Regions from separate parts of the Homo sapiens genome. Here regions 1 and 2 are each linked to region 3. The links are contacts of gene promoters, found by promoter capture Hi-C in blood cells and fetal thymus (Javierre and others, 2016). All regions are on one chromosome and are shown on one strand. Each heading gives the region's core, a stretch centred on a gene start or on the middle of the fragment in contact. The rest is flanking DNA. Distances are from core to core; before and after follow the strand shown. Region 1 has its middle 45 kb from the start of P2RY10. Region 2 has its middle 22 kb from the start of P2RY10. Region 3 holds the start of RTL3 (retrotransposon Gag like 3).

Region 1 (4,714 bases), core at 63-2,562, 330 kb before region 3:
TTAGGAGATATACCTAATGCTAAATGACGAGTTAATGGATGCAGCACACCAGCATGGCACATGTATGCATATGTAACTAACCTGCACCTTGTGCACATGTACCCTAAAACTTAGAGTATAATAATAATAAAATAAAATAAAAAAAGAAGCAAAATAGAAAGCTTACTAAATTCATACTTAATTTGCATAAACAAAAAAAGTTCCAGACCAAATGAATAAGTATATCATAAATCATGTAAACAGAGTCATGGCCCCTCAATCAATTTCCAGAGTTGAGCCTATTTGCAAACCCACTATCCCTTAAGTGAAAGGGACGCTAGATTTTCTTGAGGAAGGACCTTGGTGCACCACTGAAAATTTATATTATTCATATCTTTCTCAGCGTTCCCCAAAGGGTAACTGTGCATTAGAAAAAAAGAAAAATAATCAGGTTTTATTGAGACTCCAGATCCTTGCTCTGAACTTACATTGATTCTAGGAGACCCTTAAAGGTAACTGTGACCCCCCAGTTAGAGTAACAGCTTACAGAGGCCAGAAAATCAATGGAACCTTTAGTTCAGGTCTATCTTACAGTGGACCCGTTGGGTCCCTTAACCCATTCTGCAGTTATTTCCTAATTCCAGAATGCATAATTGGAATAGACATATTTAGCAAATAGCAGAATTTCCACATTGGTTTCTTGACCTATAAAGTAAGGGATAGTATAGTAGAAAAGGTCAAATGCAAGCCATTATCTAGGAAACTGCCTTTATCCAGGAAAATAGTAAATTAAAAGCAATACTGCATTTCTTGAGGCATTGCAGATACTAGGGCTACCATCAAGGACTTGAAAGATGTAGGGGTGGTGATTCCCACCACATCCCAATTCAACTCTTCTATTTGGACTGTGAAGAAGAGAGATGGATATTGGAGGATGACCATAGATTACTGTAAGCTTAGCCAAGTGATGACTCCAATTGCAGGGGCTGCACCTGATGTGGTTTTGTTGCTTGAGCAAGTAGACCCATCCCTGGTACCTGATATGCAGCTATTTAGCTGGCGAATACCTTTTTCTCCATCCTATTTACAAGGCCCACCAGAAGCAATTTGCTTTTATCTAGCAAGGCCAAGAGTATACCTTCACTGTTCTACCTCAGAGGTATATCAACTCTCCAACTCTATATCATAATGTAGTTAAGAGAAATCTAGACTGTCTCTTTCCACAAAATATCATGCTAGTTATTTAGATTAATGTCATTATGCTGATTAAGACTTGTCAACAAGAATTAGTTTTTAGGCACAATATATTTTGAAGGCATCACTCAAAACTGTAACTACAGAACTTCTATGAGACATCACTGAAGGACACTGGTAAAGGTAAATTTTCCCAATGGGCAAAACGTTGAGTGCTGCACCTGGTTGTGCTTCTTGCTTAGAAGGCAAAATGGCTAGAAATGCAATTATATAACAATTTATCATCTGTAGCCAATCGTTTGAGTGGATGGACAGGAAGCAGAAAGAAACATAATTGGAGAATTGGTGACCAAAAAAAATTTGAGGAGAAGACATAGGGATAAATATCTCTGAATGATAAAAAATTATGAAGATATTTGTGTCCTGTGTGAGTGTTTCCAAAGGATGAACCCAGCAGAGAAGGATTTAACTAATCAAGTGGATAGAATGATGCATTCTATAGATACCAGTAAGCTTGTTTTGCCAGACAACTCTGTCATTGCTGAGTGGACTCATGAAAACGGCAGCCAGAAATGAAGGTTTGGGTTATCCTACCAGATAAAGAACCACAAATAGCATAAGTGCTTGCCAAAGGGAAAGGTAATACAGGATGGACAGCAGAACAAAGTAGTTATAAATACTAGCTACTACCATGTAACCAGTTACAGAAATAAGGACTGTAATTGTCATGAGCATGTTTTTCTCATTTTGTAATGAATGACATTCGTGTGTGGATGTGAATTATTACACACACATACACATTTAACATATGAAAATACATATTTTGAGCAATTTTTTTCTTTCCCTTATCAAATAACTTTAAATGTATTGACTATATCAATATTTAAGTATTGTTAATTTTACATTGTAATATTTAAGTTACAGAAAATCAGGAAAAAATACACATCACTGAAAGACTTTACCTCCACTCTGAGGGTAGGAATTAATGTATTTTTGTTTGTACACAGAACAGTTGTATTACGTTAAGCAGAGTTATTTCTTTATTATTGTCTTTATTTGGAGATTAAGTATAGTTGAAGGAGCTGTGTATGCATGTCAAGTTGACAAGTGGTGGAATTTTGATGGTTAATTTTCTTTGTCAACATCACTGGGTTAAGAGAATGCCCAGAGTGCTGGTAATAGATTATTTCTGGGTGTGTATGTGAGGGTGTGTATTAGTCCATTTTCATGCTGTTGATAAAGGCATACCCGAGACTGGGCAATATATAAAATAAAGAGGTTTAATGGACACAGTTCCACATGGCTGGGGAGGCCTCACAATCATGTCAGAAGGTGAAAGGCATATCACAGATGGTGGCAGATGAGAAGAGAGTATCTGCAGAGAAACTCCCCTTTTAAAACCATCAGAATTAATGAGACTTATTCACTATTACAAGAACAGCACAGGAAAGACCTGCTGCCATAATTCAATTACCTCCCACTGGGTCTCTCCCACAACATGTGGAAATTCAAGACGATATTTGATTGAGGACACAGCCAAACCATGTCATTCCATCCCTGGCCCTTCCCAAATCTCATGTCCTCACATTTTGAAACCAATCATGCCTTCCCAAGAGTCCCCCAAAGTCTTAACTCATTTTAACTTTAACTCAAAAGTCTACAGCCCAAAGTCTTATCTGAGACAAAGAAAGTCACTTCAGTCTATGAGCCTGTAAAATCAAAAGCAAGTTAGTAGCTTTCTAGATACAATGGGGGTACAGGCACTGGGTAAATACAGCCATTCCAAATGGGAGCAATGGGCCAGAAAAAAAGAGGCCACACGCCCCATGCAAGTGCAAAATCCAGTGGGGCAGTCAAATCTTAAAGCTGCAAAATTATCTCTTTTGACTCCATGTCTTACATCCAGGTCATGGTGATGCAAGAGGTGGGTTCCTGTGACCTTGGACAGGACAGCCTCTGTGGCTTTGCAAGGTTCAGCCTCCCTCCTGGCTGATTTTACAAACTGGCATTGAGTATCTGCAGCTTTTCCATGTTCACAGTACAAGCTGTCAGTAGATCTACCATTCTTGGGAGTGGAGGATGGTGATCTTCTTTTTACAGCTCCACTAGGTGGTGCCCCAGTAGGAACTCTGTGTGGGAGCTCTGATCCCATGTTTTCCTTCCATACTGTCCAACCAGACGTTATCCATGACGGCCCTGCCCTTGATGCTAACTTCTGCCTGGACATCCATGTGTTTCCATACATCCTCTGAAATTCAGGTGGAGGTTCCCAAAACCCAATTCTCGACTTCTCTGCACTCACAGGCTCATTGTCACATTGAAGGTGCTAAGGCTTGGGGCTTGCACCCTCTGAAGCCATGGCCCAAGTTCTACATTGGCCCCTCTTAGGCATGACTGGAGCTGGGATGCAGGTCACTAAGTCCCTAGGCTACACACAGCACATGGACCCTGGGCCTGGACCTCAAAACCATTTTTTCCTTCTAGGCCTCTGGGCCTGTGATGGGAGGGACTGCAGTTAAGACCTCTGAAATGCCCTGGAGATATTTTCCCCATTGTCTTGGTGATTAATATTTGGCTCCTTGTTAGTTATGCAAATTTCTGCAGTGGGTTTGCATTTGTCCTCAGAAAATGAGATTTCCTTTTTTGTCACATTGTCAGGCTCTAAATTTTCCAAAGTTTTATGCTGTTTCCCTTTTAAAACTGAATGCCTTTAACAGCATCCAAGCCACTTCTTGAATGCTTTGCTGCTTAGAAATTTCTTCCAAGAGATACACTAAATCATCTCTCTCAAGTTCAAAGTTCCACAAATCTCTAGGGCAGGGGTAAAATGCCACCAGTCTCTTTGCTAAAACATAACAAGAGTCACCTTTGCTCCAGTTCCCAACAAGTTCCTCATCTCCATCTGAGACCACCTCAGCCTGGATTTCACTGTACGTGTAATTATCAGCATTTTTGTCAAAGCCATTCAACAAGTCTTTAGGGAGTTCCAAATTTTTCTACATTTTGCTGACTTTTTCTGAGCCCTCCAAACTGTTCCAACCTGTTACCCAGTTCCAAAGTAACTTCCACATTTTCAGGTATCTTTTCAGGAGCACCCCACTCTACTGGTACCAACTTACCGTATTAATCCTTTTTCACACTGCTGATAAAGACATACCTGAGACTGGGCAATTCACAAAAGAAAAAGGTTTAATCGACTTACATTTCCACATGACTGGGGAGGACTCACAATTATGGCAGAAGGTAAAAGGCATGTCTCACATGGCAGCAGGCAAGAGAAGAGAGCTTGTGCAGGGAAACTCCCCTTTTTAAAACCAACAGATCTCATGAGATGTATTCAATATCACAAGAATCACAACACGTGGGAATTCAAGTTGAGATTTTGATGTAAACACAGCCGAACTATATTAGGGTCTTTCTGTAAGAGATTAACATTTGAATAAGTAGGTTGAATGAAGAAGATCTGCTCTCATCAATGTGGGTGGGCATCATCCAATCTGTTGAGGAACTGAGTAAAACAAAAAGGAGAAAGGGTGAATTC
Region 2 (4,660 bases), core at 1,432-3,931, 260 kb before region 3:
TAGTTTCACTCTCCTACATGTGGCAAGCCAATTATCGCAGCACCATTTGATAAAAGGTTGTCCTTTCTTCACTTTATGTTTTTGTTTGTTTTGTCAAAGATCAGTTGGCTATAAGTTTGTGGGTTTATTTCTGGATTCTCTATTTTGATCCATTGATCTATGTTCCTTTTTTTATACCAGTATCACGTTGTTTTGGTGAAATATGGCCTTAGAGTATAGTTTGAAATAGATAATGTGATGCCTTCAAATTTGGTCTTTTTGCTTAGTCTTGCTTTGTGTATGCAGGATATTTTTGGGTTCCATATGCATTTTAGAATCTTTTTTTTCTAATTCTATGAAGAATGATGGAATGGTAGTAGTTTGACCTAAATCATTCTATGAAGCCAGTGTCACCCTAATATCAAACCAAGAAAGGACCTAACCAAACAAGAAAACTACAGACCAATATTCCTGATGAACGTAGATGTTGAAATCCTTAACAAAATACTAACTAACCAAATCCAACAACTTATCAAAATGATAATTCTGCATGATCATGTGGGATACCAGGGTTGCAGAGACAGTTTAACACACACAAGTCAATAAATGTGATACAGCAAATAACCAGAATTAAAAACAAAAATTACATGATCATCTCAATAGATGCAGAGAAAGCATTCAACAAAATCCAGTATTCCTTTTTGATTAAAACTCTCAGAAAAATTGGCATACAAGGGACATACCTCAATGTAATAAAAGCCATCTATGACAAACTTACAGCCAACATAATACTGAATGGGGAAAAGTTGAAAGCATTCCCTCTGAGGACTGGAACAAGACAAGTATGCCTACCCTCACCACTCCTCTTCAACATAGTACTGGAAGTCCTAGCCAGAGCAATCAGACAAGAGAAAGAAATAAAGGGCATCCAAATCGGTAAAGAGGAAGTCAAACTGTTGCTGTTTGCTGATGACATGATCACTTACCTAGAAAACCCTAAAGACTCCTCCAAAAAGCTCCTACAACTGATAAAAAAAAAAAAAAAAAATTCAGCAGAGGCCAGGCGTGGTCGCTCACGCCTGTAATCCCAGCACTTTGGGAGGCTGAGACGGGCGGATCACAAGGTCAGGAGATCGAGACCATCCTGGCTAACACAGTGAAACTCCGTCTCTACTAAAAATACAAAAAATTAGCCGGGCATAGTGGCGGGCACCTGTAGTCCCAGCTACTCAGGAGGCTGAGGCAGGAGAATGACGTGAACCCGGGAGGCGGAGCTTGCAGTGGACCGAGATCGCGCCACTGCACTCCAGCCTGGGCGACAGAGTGAGTCTCCGTCTCAAAAAAAAAAAAAAAAAAAAATTCAGCAGAGTTTCCGGATACAAAATTTATGTACACAAATCAATAGCTCTTCTATAAACCAACAACAAGCTAGCTGAGAATCAAATAAAGAACTCAATCCCTTTTAAAATAGCTGCAAAAAAATAATAAAATACTTAGGACTATACCTAATAAAGGAGGTGAAAGACCTCTAGAAAAAAAAAACACTGCTGAAAGAAATTATAGATGGCACAAACAAATGGAAACACATCTCATGTTCATGGATGGGTACAATCAATATTGTGAAAATTGACCATACTGCCAAAAACATCTTTTTATTTTGGTTTAGTAAAATTCCATTCCCTTCTTTCTTTGTGGCACTGGTTATGAGCTGGGCTACTAGCCTCTGGGGCCATGCTAAGAGAAAATACAAGCTGAAGAGCAAACGATGCTGTGTCACTATGAATCAGCAGCTGGGAAATGGAAAGACATTTCACTAAAAAATGAAAGAGCACTTTACAGGTTTTCTTTCAGTATTGAACTTTAAGAAGATCTTCTCCCAGAGCTAAGTCTTTAGGTGGTTTCCAAAGTGTAAATAAAGCTTAGACCAGTGCAGGGAAGTTCCTCAGCATGGTCTCAAGACAGAAATGACTGCCTAATGAAGGTCAGGTGCTGGACTGGACAGTGAGTTGAATCAGCTTTCCAGGAGAATCAAAGCTACTTGGCCAGTCCAAAGCTAACATGAAGTGGGGGGAGTCAGAAGGAGGTCAGTGGTAACAAAACTCTCATGAAGGAGCAAAGTAGGCAAGGAAAAGAGATCTCAGAGAAGAGTGTTACTGAGTCAGCACTGTCCAAAATCAGCTTATGAGCTGGACTTTGCTTTCATGCTGGGCGCTTATTTAACTTTCTTCAGAAAACTATGAGAAATGAGGTTTTTTGTTGTTGTTTGTTTTTTTAGGATACCCTCTTAAACTGTACAACTTTGCTCCCTAATCTCATTCACCAATGTATACTGGGCTTTGGTAAGCTATAAATAGAAGGAAGTATCAGTTGCTTCAAAACAACTTTAGTGTTTCAGAAACCAATTTCTCACTTCTCCCATTAGAAATATTAGAGTTTTATGTTTTCTAGTCCATGCTGAGAGAAAATTTTCTCCGTGTTTGAATATTTGTTTTACATATATTTATTTTCTCAAAAAACTAAAAAAATACTTCTGAAGCTCACATCAACCAAGTTGTTGAGTAATCCACTCCCTTTTCATGTTTTCTCCTTTGCTGAACTAAAAGTGGTATTTATAATGACATTAAGATCCTATGAAATTATTTTCCTCCCACTGGAATTTATTTATGTGTAAGAGGAAAGGGGTGAGTAGAGAGCCACTGAACTCACCCATCACCTAAATGAGGCTTGGGTTTGGCATTTTGGCACAAAACGAAGTTGAGCTGACACATCTCTGAGGTTAGGGCTTCCTGGCTGTTGTGTTCAAGAGGGTATAAATTATCAGTGACACTAGTGACACTTTGTTGAAGAATATGTTAGGGGATTCTGTGCTGATAGAGAAGAGTGCATAAACTTTGAAAAAATGCATACTTGACAAACATAAAGGAAATGAGAAGAGTGGAAGAGAGAAATGGATTTACAAACAATACTAATAATAGTAATTATAATAATGACAAGAAGAGGGGGATAGTAAAGAAGTGAAAGGTGGAAAGATAAAGCAGGTAACTTTCTGCTTATCTGTGCCCTACTTGGCTTTCTGATATTGGGACCAGTTGATTTCTGGGTAATAAGGTTGGTGATTCAGGTCCCATGAGTTCTATGTGGTGCAATACCTGAGGAAATGCTACTAGACCATAAAAGTTTTGTCCTCATGGGCAACTCGTGAGGCTTATCCCTGTGGAAACTTTTCCATTGTCATTCACATTAGTCTGTAGATAAGAGCTAAATATACTCCCACCTAATGCCCATAGAAAATATTCGTGGGCTCTCTATTGCCAAATGCCATCCTGGAGATCAAGGCCCCATGAAACATGACAGAGGGCTCTCTGATCCCACCTCAACTACACAAGAATTTTTAAAATCCAAACCTCTGAGGTGAATGTGGTAGAGCACTGCAAAAAAAGGGGCTTTATTCTGTGTGGCCTAAAATTACTCCATGTGGAAAGCTTTCCGTCACCGTATCAGCTAACATGATTATATAGGAAAGGACATAAATTTCAGCCATAGAGATTGAGAGAGTATATTCTACTCCACTGTGTCCAGGAAACTCAGACCTTCTCTTCCATCAACAAAACCCAATCAAATGGTGATCTGCTAATGGAAATTTAAAATAGAGAAAAAAATAGAAAAATCGAAACAAGTATTGTATTCATCTCCTTTCACTGACTCCATTGCTAGACATGTTGCTAAAATAGCTCCTTCATTGTAAGAGCTTGAGAGCTATTGACATTGCAGATAAGAAAAAAGGCACATGTACCCTAAAACTTAAAGTATAATAATAATAAAATTAAAAAAAAAGAAAAAAGGCTCTAAAGTTAAACTCAGTCTCAAAGTTAATGTATTTATGCAGAAACAGAAGGAGAATTAAAGAAAACAGTAGGATTTCAACTCAAGGCCTTCACATTGTTCCTAGGATCATGGCTGATTACACATTCTAGGTCTTAACTAAATGTCATTATTTCATTTGAAATTCAGTGGCAATATACTTTTTCTCACTTGTTCTCAGAACATTTGGTGAGATCAATTCATTTATCCAGCAACCTTTGTTCCTTGATTTACTTAATTAACATTAATGTATTGGTCTTTATATTGACAGCATTCAGATCAGTGACAGGATTTTAACATATTAAAAGTAAATTAATATTTACCAAAGCAGCATGAGTGAAAGAAGAAATAAAACAACACAAATAATTTCAAGTTATTAAGAATATTAATGATGTTTGAGGGAAACAAAGATTCAAATATTCTCACTGTAGGAGTTCCATAAAAGATAACAATGAGTAACAGGTTTTGGTTTGGGGCCTGATTGTGAAGGAGGATCTAGAATGCCCGACCAAGTTTGGACTTTACCCAAAAGGTAATAAATACCTATTAGTCTATGGGTTTTTGCACAGATGACAACTTGAAAGTAGCGGTGTTTTAGGGAAAAAATAATTATGGAAACAAGGATATACCGAATGATTGATAAGGAGACGATATGGAAGATAGATTAGAAAAACCACTAGAATAGTCGATTCAAGAGGAAACAGGGTACTAAATTATAGTGGAGAGATTGAGAATAAATCAGAGGAGACAGATAGAAACTTCTTGATAAAAGAAATAGCAGAACTTGTAGCTTGAGAGGCTTCCACTTTTCTGACTGTAT
Region 3 (4,830 bases), core at 2,290-4,789:
AACTTTATAAGGAAATCAAATATAAGGCCACTGACAAGGTGTAATCTGAAGGACACCAAAATGATATCTCTGACCAAGGGTATCTCTCCTAACAGAAGAGTCTTGAATGGATTGCAGTCTTTCAAAATATCCTATGAAAATGCACACACCCCCAAGAAAGATTTTTTAAAGTCTTACGAGTTAGTATTTCAGTAGGGCCTTACTTTCCCAGTGTGACAGCTGATCAAGCGGAAAAGCCTCCTAAGTATGGGATAAGAAATAAAGTGAGAAGGTTGTAAATTTCGTAAAGGGAGATGAGTGACAAATTTTGACTCCTGTGTGGGATAGACTCTGTTTCCATACCATTACTAGGTCCTCTGGGTCCTGGCCTTATGAGTAAAGAGAATTTTTGGTCAGCCTTCTAACTTCCAGAGAAATTGGGAACTCCTGTTGCCCCAGTGCTATATTATGGGGTGTTGTTGACAATGAAAAGTTTCATTCTGTACTAATCACATTATAGGTTAAATTTAAGAAAGTGTTGCAAGCTATAATGTAACCATAGGAATAATATGTTAAATAAAACACACACCAGGATGGGACTGCCCCCAAGGGGTGACTGGGCCTTGCGCCAGAGACCTGTAGGGTAAACTGTCCCATTGACTGTTTTTCAGAGTGGGAAAAGGGAGGGACAGAAGCTGGAGTTGCTTAAAGATGCAGCCCAGCCAGCTTAGGGGAGGAAGACCCTGGGAGAGACCTAAAACATTTAGTTTGTATATTTGCCGACGAAAGAAAATTATGAGCCAGTGGAATGTACAAAGTAGAACTGCATTGCATTCAACCTTTTCTTTCCTTTTCTCCCTAAGCTAACAATCAGCATATGTAGCTTATTAACATAACTGAGCCTGAATATTTCTTATTAGTGTGTAGTCTTTTTATATCTGTTAAATGAGCATATTTGTCTCTTTTCTCCCTGAAATATTCATTTGCATAGTTAACAAAATCTCATTTACTTAAAATATTTTCATGACCGTTCTAAAGGATCCATACATTCCATCATATTGTAAATGTATGAAGAAGAATTACAGTGTAGGGGAAACATGATGAAAATTTGGATGTGATTACTTTCTTATTCTTACTTTCCTGTTCTCACTTAACTAATTCAGGATGCTGAAACCACTTTAGGCGTTTTGACAAAAGTCTGTGTAGCTGCCTTTTCCACCCAGAAAAGAATAATTCTCTATGTTTAGGCAGTTTGAACTTGTACTTAAGGACGGTGAATTCGGTCTTTGCTGTTTAGTGTAGGGGGCTGGGGAAGGAAAGGTTTCTGTGTTTATACACTGAATAAATATTCCTGTAGGCAAGACACTTTTCAGTGCTTTAGTCCATGAACTTTTTAAACATCTATCTTGGCTGCTTCACAATTCCAGTTTTAATCTTCTAATCTTCCTGCTCAGGTGCCTCCAGTCCTGATTCTAGAGTACTATCTGGAAACTAAACCATCTATATCCCAGCAAGGAAGAATAGATAAAAGTTCCCAAGTGGTGAAAAACCAATGCTGTAAAATCGATGCACTGTAGATTTCTCGGTATGAGACCCCTTTCTCAGCCTCTACACAACTCTAGCATGTTTACCTATTCAGTTTCCCAATTCACAGGTGATTAAAAAGAATAAATTAAAATGAGATTACTGCTGCTACAGCTTATTATTATTATTATTATTATTATTATTAACCTTTATTGGGTGTTATTAGCTGCCAGACACTGTGCTAATCCTTTTTTCACACATTATTTCACTGAATTTTTGACAACCCTATAAAGTCAAATAATATTAATAACTTCATTTTACAGTTTCATAAACTAAAGTTTAGATTCTAACTATCAGAAGGATGAAGTAATTTGCCAAATTTGTATAGGGTAAGTATAGACAGGCATATAGGTATAACATGAAGGGCTATGTTACAACTTGATTGCAAAAGAGTATAAAAATATAAAGGAAAAGAAAATACAAGAAGTCGCAAAACATAGCAATTTGGAAGTTTTTAATTTGAAGACAGACCACTTTATACCTCTCAGTAGCTTTCAGAGGGCAACACTGTGTTACAACAGGGTAAACTAGCTGGTTTGTGTAAGTATGAATCCAAACCATTAAAACTGGATTAAATTATATGCAAAATCATTTCTTAAGAATGGACAAAGAGGTATAACATATGCTATAAATATTTCTCTGATTTTTTTAAATTGAAATACTCTTTATTAAATTTCAACTTGATGTCCAGTATTGAACCTTCAAACTCATTGTTACAGAAATTGCTAAACATTAGGAAAGAGTTTCAATTAATAGTTGTTCCCTAACTAAGCCCGTTACAAATTCAGGTGTTGGAAGTTCTCTTTTCTTTCTGGATAAAATAAATGTTAACTGTGTGTTTTGGCTTCTTGGAGGGCAGGAAGGCTTCAGTTATCTGAAAACTTCACATAAATAGATCACATCATCCCTGATGATGGTGGTATTTTTATATGTGTGGTGTTTCTAGAAAAATAAAACTTTGAAAGGTAAGGAAAGAATAAACTCGATTTGCAAAAGATTTTGTTTTTACTTTCAAAGCTTCTGCATTCGGATTCAGGTAGCCCAGTCTGTCAATTTGCTATGTTTTGGGCCTATTCCATCACTAGGGTTTATCCCATTATGCTGACTAATGCAGAACTGACCATTTGTGAAGGAGACATGGGACTGTGGTTGACATGATGTGTGATTTGAAATGGCCAAATGCAAACCTCAACCCCACTCCTTACTTGGATAAAAATAGTTGCCCCTAAGCCTTGCCTAAAATGGCCACATAGCCCATACCCAAGGCATAACTGTGATCTGGCATGAGAAGAGAAAGTGAGATTCTGAGCAGGGTTACTTCCCAAGAGGCCAGTCTTTAGTGAATGTCCTGAGTGCTACCTGGAGCACCTGATCAGTTCAGGGAAGCATGAGATCTTTGGTCCAGGACATTCAGAAAGAGCCAGGGACTCTGTAAGACTGCTATAAGTACCCACCAACACAATTGGTCTCCCTGACATTTGTACCCTTTTATACCTTTTCTAGATCTGTCTGTGGCAAATTTTCCAAGAAAACATTGCAAGGAAAAACCCTAGGGACTGAATAGGTAGTAAGCAAGGGAAGGGGCTGAGGGTTTGCAGGCTGTTCCCTGAGTGAGAAGTAAACAAATGGCCCAATTTGGACAGAGTAAGAATAGGTTAGATGAGACAGACATAAAAAATCACATCCCAAACCACTGTGGTCATTCAAAAATGTTTGCAACTTTTCACAAGGGCAGTGGTATTACTCACAATTTCCTGGCCAAATATTCATTAAAGTAACCAAGGACTGAGTACATGAAGCTGCTTCACATCAGCACAGCATCCTACTTTCCTTGCAGCTCTGAACTGTGAGGTACTGTCAAAAAACTCTTCCACACTTTAAAAAGCTATGTTACAGAGGAAAGTTGGAATGTGTTCTGGGAGTGGGTGTGTTTGCTTGAGTTCAGTGTGTGCAGAAAAGGCAAGCCTCCACAGCCATTTACACATTTCCCTCCTCAGCAATGGGTACACAGACAGCCAAGCTCCTGGACTAAGTCTCTGAATGGTAACGTACATTTATAAAGATTATTTTCTTAACTATTTTGAGGTATTTTATAAATAATATGCATGTGTCTTCTGAGGGCATATATATATATATATATATATATTTAGTCGACTTTTGCTTGTTTTCTCCTGAGGCTGGTCTTGTGTGGTTACTTATGTGGTATGATTTCTGAGGTGTCAGAAAGAGCTCCCTCCTACTTCCTACCACCCTAGTCACCCAAAAATATCTCTTGGGCTGGCCCACCGCAGAGCCTAAAATTCCCACATTGCTCAAACATTTGATTTAGTCACTGAAAGCAGCTGTTAAAATCCAAATGTTACATTGGGATATTAGGCAGATATTCAAGATTAAAGACTATATAAAACAGAAAATAATATTAAAAAGTTGCTTTTGATATAATGTTAAGTTTCAAAGGATAAATGCAAAATGACATGTGCAGTTTGGGACAGATGCTGTTCTTAAAATGTCGTGGAGTCAGATCCAGCATATATACCCCAGCTCATGAACATAAGCCTATGGTAAAAGAAACCCAGCATTGTTGGGCAGATTTTGTTTTATGTTGAATGTGTGCTTTCCACAGTTTCTGATCCTCAGCTCCCACTCTCTTCGCAGTGTATCTGACACTTCCCCTTACTGAGCTCCGGAGGCTCCTTCTTGCCGAGCTCCGGAGGCTCCCAGTGACCTCTTGATAATCAGCCTTGGCGGGGCCCAAATACCACCCCTTGGAAAACTCACTGAGCCTGACATCTGCCTGTAAGCAGCTTTCAGGAAGGATCTCACAAACACCCACCCAATCTCTCTTGGTAGCAAATTGTCAAATCATACCCATTTCCTCAAAAGATGGTGGAGGACTTAGCAGCCTCCTATATTGTTCTGAAATTGGAGAATGAAATTCGGCAGGCTCAAGTGCAGTGGCTGATGGAAGAAAATGCTGCTCTCCAGGCCCAGATCCCAGAGCTTCAGAAGTCCCAAGCAGCCAAGGAGTATGATCTACTCCGAAAGTCCTCAGAGGCCAAGGAGCCCCAGAAGCTCCCAGAGCACATGAATCCCCCAGCAGCCTGGGAGGCCCAAAAGACCCCAGAGTTCAAGGAACCCCAGAAGCCACCAGAGCCACAGGATCTTCTACCCTGGGAACCCCCAGCAGCCTGGGAACTCCAGGAGGCCCCAGCAGCCCCAGAGTCCCTGGCGCCTCCAGCAACCCGGGAGTCCCAGAAACCTCCAATG

The links. The method cuts DNA at HindIII sites, captures the fragments that hold promoters and counts their contacts. A CHiCAGO score of 5 or more calls a contact.
Region 1: a contact is called between a fragment that was not itself captured here and the fragment with the promoter of RTL3 in region 3, in 1 of 17 cell types (fetal thymus). The highest score is 5.6, in fetal thymus.
Region 2: a contact is called between a fragment that was not itself captured here and the fragment with the promoter of RTL3 in region 3, in 1 of 17 cell types (total CD8 T cells). The highest score is 5.1, in total CD8 T cells.

The regions. Positions count from the first base shown.
Region 1 is chrX:78,988,475-78,993,188 of GRCh38, reverse strand. No RefSeq gene overlaps it. Among named protein-coding and RNA genes, the nearest start is that of P2RY10, 45 kb to the right of the region's middle. The HindIII fragment of the contact is 752 bases long and covers 937-1,688 here.
Region 2 is chrX:78,921,041-78,925,700 of GRCh38, reverse strand. No RefSeq gene overlaps it. Among named protein-coding and RNA genes, the nearest start is that of P2RY10, 22 kb to the left of the region's middle. RefSeq lists an enhancer at 1,786-1,905. The HindIII fragment of the contact is 1,564 bases long and covers 1,900-3,463 here.
Region 3 is chrX:78,658,037-78,662,866 of GRCh38, reverse strand. It overlaps RTL3 (retrotransposon Gag like 3), which reads left to right and starts at 3,539. Exons shown (of 2, transcript NM_152694.3): 1 at 3,539-3,606; 2 at 4,219-4,830. The coding sequence starts at 4,447. The region is part of intron 1 of LOC107985670 (a long non-coding RNA gene); the gene reads right to left. The HindIII fragment of the contact is 2,616 bases long and covers 2,583-4,830 here.